Linked DNA regions of Homo sapiens: region 1 is linked to region 2. The links are contacts of gene promoters, found by promoter capture Hi-C in human tissues and cell types (Jung and others, 2019). All regions are on one chromosome and are shown on one strand. The core of a region is centred on a gene start or on the middle of the fragment in contact, and the rest is flanking DNA. Distances in the headings are between cores, read along the strand shown.

What was found. The method cuts DNA at HindIII sites, captures the fragments that hold promoters and counts their contacts. A contact is called where the count stands out against the background at its distance.
Region 1: a fragment that was not itself captured here is called in contact with the fragment with the promoter of OR10G9 in region 2 in 1 of the 25 tissues and cell types used here (H1 embryonic stem cells).

The regions. Positions count from the first base shown.
Region 1 is chr11:123,988,326-123,991,151 of GRCh38, forward strand. No RefSeq gene overlaps it. Among named protein-coding and RNA genes, the nearest start is that of OR10G6, 5.4 kb to the right of the region's middle. The HindIII fragment of the contact is 7,262 bases long and covers 1-2,826 here.
Region 2 is chr11:124,021,607-124,024,540 of GRCh38, forward strand. OR10G9 (olfactory receptor family 10 subfamily G member 9) reads left to right here and starts at 1,407. Exons shown (of 1, transcript NM_001001953.1): 1 at 1,407-2,342. The coding sequence starts at 1,407. The coding sequence ends at 2,342. The HindIII fragment of the contact is 4,788 bases long and covers 656-2,934 here.

The DNA.
Region 1 (2,826 bases), core at 88-2,587, 33 kb before region 2:
ATGCAAATCAAAACCACAGTGAAATACCATCTCACACCAGTTAGAATGGCAATCATTAAAAAGCCAGGAAACCACAGGTGCTGGAGAGGATGTGGAGAAATAGGAACACTTTTACACTGTTGGTGGGACTGTAAACTAGTTCAACCATTGTGGAAGTCAGTGTGGCAATTCCTCAGGGATCTAGAACTAGAAATACCATTTGACCCAGCCATCCCATTACTGGGTATATACCCAAAGGACTATAAATCATGCTGCTATAAAGACACACGCACACGTATGTTTATTGCGGCATTATTCACAATAGCAAAGACTTGGAACCAACCCAAATGTCCAACAATGATAGACTGGATTAAGAAAATGTGGCACATATACACCATGGAATACTATGCAGCCATACAAAATGATGAGTTCATGTCCTTTGTAGGGACATGGATGAAATTGGAAATCATCATTCTCAGTAAATTATCGCAAGAACAAAAAACCAAACACCACATATTCTCACTCACAGGTGGGAATTGAACAATGAGAGCACATGGACACAGGAAGGGGAACATCACACTCGGGACTGTTGTGGGGTGGGGGGAGGGGGGAGGGATAGCATTAGGAGATATACCTAATGCTAGATGACGAGTTAATGGGTGAAGCACACCAGCATGGCACATGTATATATATGTAACTAACCTGCACAATGTGCACATGTACCCTAAAACTTAAAGTATAATAATAATAAAAAGAATGCAACCCCCCCCCAAAAAACACAATTCTTAAAATTTCAGCCAAAGTTGGGGAAATGTAAGAAATTGATATGATCAGGAAATGGGATTAGAGTATACTTTTTAAAAATCTTGACATTATTAAGTTGCTTAAAGTTTTAATAAAACATTTTTTAAAAATAAAAAAAAAGGACTTGTCTTACTACACACACCCTTTCTATTCTCTTCAATGGGTAAAGCTAGATATCAGAATTCCATTTGAATTTTTCTGTTTTTTAAAAAACATGAATAGCCTTTTTCTTGAAATGTAAGTCTTATTTGTATCTGCATTTAATTTTTTATAACCATTATCCTTAGTTTCTCATTTCATAATGAGATGAAACCCATCATAAGCCATTCTCATAACGAAATGAGAGACTGAGGGTAATGGTCATAAAAGACTCATTTCATAATGAGTCTCTCATTTCATTATGTCTCAGGGATTATAATTATAATCTCCTGCAAGGTCTTCTCAACTCTCACCTCTCCCCTTTAATGAATCACTTCATCCTGCATAACATTGACTGATCAAATTTCAAAAGAGTTTATCTCACTGGTCCCCTCCCACAAATGCTAATAATCTCAATCTCACATACTGATTTACTGTGCAACACAAAATTCTCAATTTATAACTCAAAACTTCTAAAATGTGATTGGTATCCATTTATTCTTATCCCCTACAACTTTTCTCTACTCAAGTACATTTCTCTGTTCAATAAGCATTTCTTTATGCAAGTAGATTTTCTCAACCTCTCCTAAATTTACTGTTAATCTCCTCTTGTTCTCCTCACCCTACCCAATCCCCCCTTGAAGAAATCAACTTCATTTTTATCTGATAACATCTCTAAAGCTTCTCGGACTTTAGTGTGCACATGAGTCACCTGGGACTCTTGTTAAGCTGCAAATCCTAATTCAACAGGTCTGGAGTAGGGACTGAGATTTCTGTCTTTCTAATAAGTGCCCAGAGATTTCCATTATGTGGTTCCATGAATTGCACTTTGAGTAGCAAGAATCTAAGCTACTATTCGAGGTTAAGATCAAGCCTATCCTCTCCATGTTGTCTTTCTACCCTAAGAATGCTTTGGTTCCCCTGTAAACTCAGTGGCATTTAACAGTGTGTTTTGATATGTAGCCTGTTCAGAAACTCTCTTAGCATACTTCTACACTTTTCTATGTGTATGTGATATAGTTCCCTAAGAAGAAGAATGTTTTCCATAAATATCTTTGAAAGAGAGCCAAAAAATGGCATGAACTATGAAGTTAGATGGACTTGGGTTTATTGTCCTGTCACTGTCAACTACTGGTTGAAGGATATTTGGAAGATTGCTCACTTCCTCTTCTCCTCTTGCTAAATACATCAATTCCACACCTTTAAAATGAAAATAATAATGCATAAAGAGTGTCCTATTAATAGTTGCTATTAACCCTGGATAGTATGTGAAATAACATAAAATCTTAATTTTTTAAAAGTCAGTTACTCAAACCGCTGAATTTTACATGACCCTTTCAATATGAGAATATCACTACTTCACAGAAAAGTCAATTCCAATATTGGACTGTTCATATACAATTTATACCATATACTGTTATACATATACTGTTCATACAATTTAAATCAACATGACTAAACTTCCCCCAATTATTTTTAGCCTAATCCTTTAAGCTCAATGAAATAGTCAAAATACCAAATAAATTCAAATAGAAATAATTTTTTGAACAAATCATGCTTACTGTATTTCACCACCTGCGTATAGCATAAAAATGGTAGGTGAGAAAAATCTGGCTAGTGACTGTCAAGCCTGACAAAAAAATTGAGACTTTGCTATGACACCTCTTTTCTTATCTCTTTCCTAGGAGTGTTTTTCTCCATGCTCCTCAACTTAGAATGGAATTAATGTCCTGATAAACCCATCCTAAGTCAAAAATATCATAAGATGAAAATGCATTGAATATACCTAACTTACCAAACATCATAGCGCAGTTTAGCCCATCCTAAATGTGCTCAGAACACTTCCATTAGCCTACAGTTGGGCCAAATCATCCGAAAGAAAGCCTATTTAATAATAAAATTTTG
Region 2 (2,934 bases), core at 157-2,656:
AGTGTTCTAGGGTAACAGAAATGGGGGTGGGGGCAGTCACGTAAGAAGCTTGGTGCTCTCTGGATGATTTGGGAGGACATGGGAATCCTACTATAGAGTTATGCTGAGATTCTTACCTGCTCTGAGAGACCTAGGAGAAGCCCTTTAAAAGCAGGCAGTAGTGAGGACATCAGTAACTGTATCAGGGATACAATAGTACAAAAAGACCTAGCTCTTAGATTCAGAACTCTCTGAAAACACTGAAAGAATATATGTACTCTCTTTCTCTCTAAGATCAAAAACAGCAATTCCATAATACTGCTGCAAGGCACAATGTGGTAAGACTCACTGTGATTTATTGAGCAGTTATTACCTGCCAGTCACAGTACTACGTGTTTAAATGTATCATCTTATTTAATGCTTATAATTTCTCGGTGAGTAGGTGATGTTAGTAATGCCAAATAACATAAGAGGGAACTAGAGAATGATTTACTAGTACTGTTCAGTTTTCAAATACTCCTTGCTACTAATAATTAAATTCTTGGTGTTTTTTTTTTAAGTTTTCCCACGAGCAAGGCAGCGAAAATAGAATGTGGTAGATAGAATTCCAAGCAGCCTTCAAGATTCTTGCCCACTGGTATACACTTTCTGTTTAATAACCTTCCTTTGAGTATGCCTGGGACCTGTTAATATGATGGGATATCACCCCTTTGACTGCATTATGTAACATTATATAACATTTTGTCATAGCAAACTGGAGAGAGTTTATCTCATTGGTTTCAAAGAAGTAACCTGTTGTGTTTTAAGAAGACCAAGTAGCTAGGACTTTCTAGCACCTAGGGGGACCTCTGTAAGGTGAGAGTGATATGTCCTGCCAACAAACAGCAAGAAAACTGGGACCTCAGTCCTAAAACTACAAGGAATTGAATCATGCACACAACCCCCATAAGGTTGGAAGATGATCCCAGCCTCAGATGAGATTGCAGCCCCTGGCGATACATTGATTAAAACCTGGTGAGACCCTGAACAGGGAACCCAGCTGACCTGACCCACAGAAAGGGCGAGACAATAAATTTGCATGTTTTAAGCCAGTAAGTTTGTGGTAATTTATGCACCCATTGAAATCGAGACAATGTGTTTCTCCTAATTTATTCTGCGTATGTCTCTGTGTGTGTGTTTGTATGTGACAGAGAGAGAGAGAGAGAGAGAGAGAGAGAGAGAGAGAGAGAGAGAGAGAGAGAGAGAGAGACTAGGAAATCACTTCATTAGCTTTATGAAGGAAGCTTTGTAACAAGCAAAGTCCATGAAAACTCCAGAATTATCTACCTGGTTTTCACATAGAGAATGACTTCTCAGTTATCAATTAATTGGTAAATGCTGGGTGCTCCTTATATCCCCAGAGGGAGAGAGACCAAGGGTGAGAAGAAATGTCCAAGACCAGCCTCGTGACAGCGTTCATCCTCACGGGCCTTCCCCATGCCCCAGGGCTGGACGCCCCACTCTTTGGAATCTTCCTGGTGGTTTACGTGCTCACTGTGCTGGGGAACCTCCTCATCCTGCTGGTGATCAGGGTGGATTCTCACCTCCACACCCCCATGTACTACTTCCTCACCAACCTGTCCTTCATTGACATGTGGTTCTCCACTGTCACGGTGCCCAAAATGCTGATGACCTTGGTGTCCCCAAGCGGCAGGGCTATCTCCTTCCACAGCTGCGTGGCTCAGCTCTATTTTTTCCACTTCCTGGGGAGCACCGAGTGTTTCCTCTACACAGTCATGTCCTATGATCGCTACTTGGCCATCAGTTACCCGCTCAGGTACACCAGCATGATGAGTGGGAGCAGATGTGCCCTCCTGGCCACCAGCACTTGGCTCAGTGGCTCTCTGCACTCTGCTGTCCAGACCATATTGACTTTCCATTTGCCCTACTGTGGACCCAACCAGATCCAGCACTATTTGTGTGATGCACCGCCCATCCTGAAACTGGCCTGTGCAGACACCTCAGCCAACGAGATGGTCATCTTTGTGGACATTGGGCTAGTGGCCTCGGGCTGCTTTCTCCTGATAGTGCTGTCTTATGTGTCCATCGTCTGTTCCATCCTGCGGATCCACACCTCAGAGGGGAGGCACAGAGCCTTTCAGACCTGTGCCTCCCACTGCATCGTGGTCCTTTGCTTTTTTGTTCCCTGTGTTTTCATTTACCTGAGACCAGGCTCCAGGGACGTCGTGGATGGAGTTGTGGCCATTTTCTACACTGTGCTGACACCCCTTCTCAACCCTGTTGTGTACACCCTGAGAAACAAGGAGGTGAAGAAAGCTGTGTTGAAACTGAGAGACAAAGTAGCACATTCTCAGGGAGAATAAATACTAGGAAGTAGATACACTAGTTTGTTTAAAAATAGTAATATAATTTAGTTATTCATGTGAAATTGATTATATGTATAGTTCTCAGTGTTAAACATTATTCCAAAACACCTGCACAGTTATAATTCTTCCACAGATTGTCTAAGACAGTTTTAACCTCACAGCTAGACTTATGTGTATGAGGAACATGCTTATATTCTGATTTATTGATTCATTTCTCATCAATAGGTTCATATTAATTTAAAAAAATATTTTCATCGAATCTCCGGGATAGATGGTTGAGTCCTTCATGTTTACAACTTGATAAAAAGTTTTGTGTTTTGTTTGATTTTTTTTGCACACAAACTTAACAATTTACCATTATGGAGACATCGTTCAAAAATAGCAACAAATATTTGAGGTCATTTTTCTAATTGTGGCTGTAGCTGTTCAAATTTCTTTTTGGTTTTAATGTATCTGTATATTTGTATGTGTCTATACAAATCCAAACGTGTATACAAAAGAAAGTCTGTAGCATTTAGCATATTTAACATATAGGTTTTCATCATGTATGTATATGTATCTGTCTATTTACATACATGTATTGGAAAAC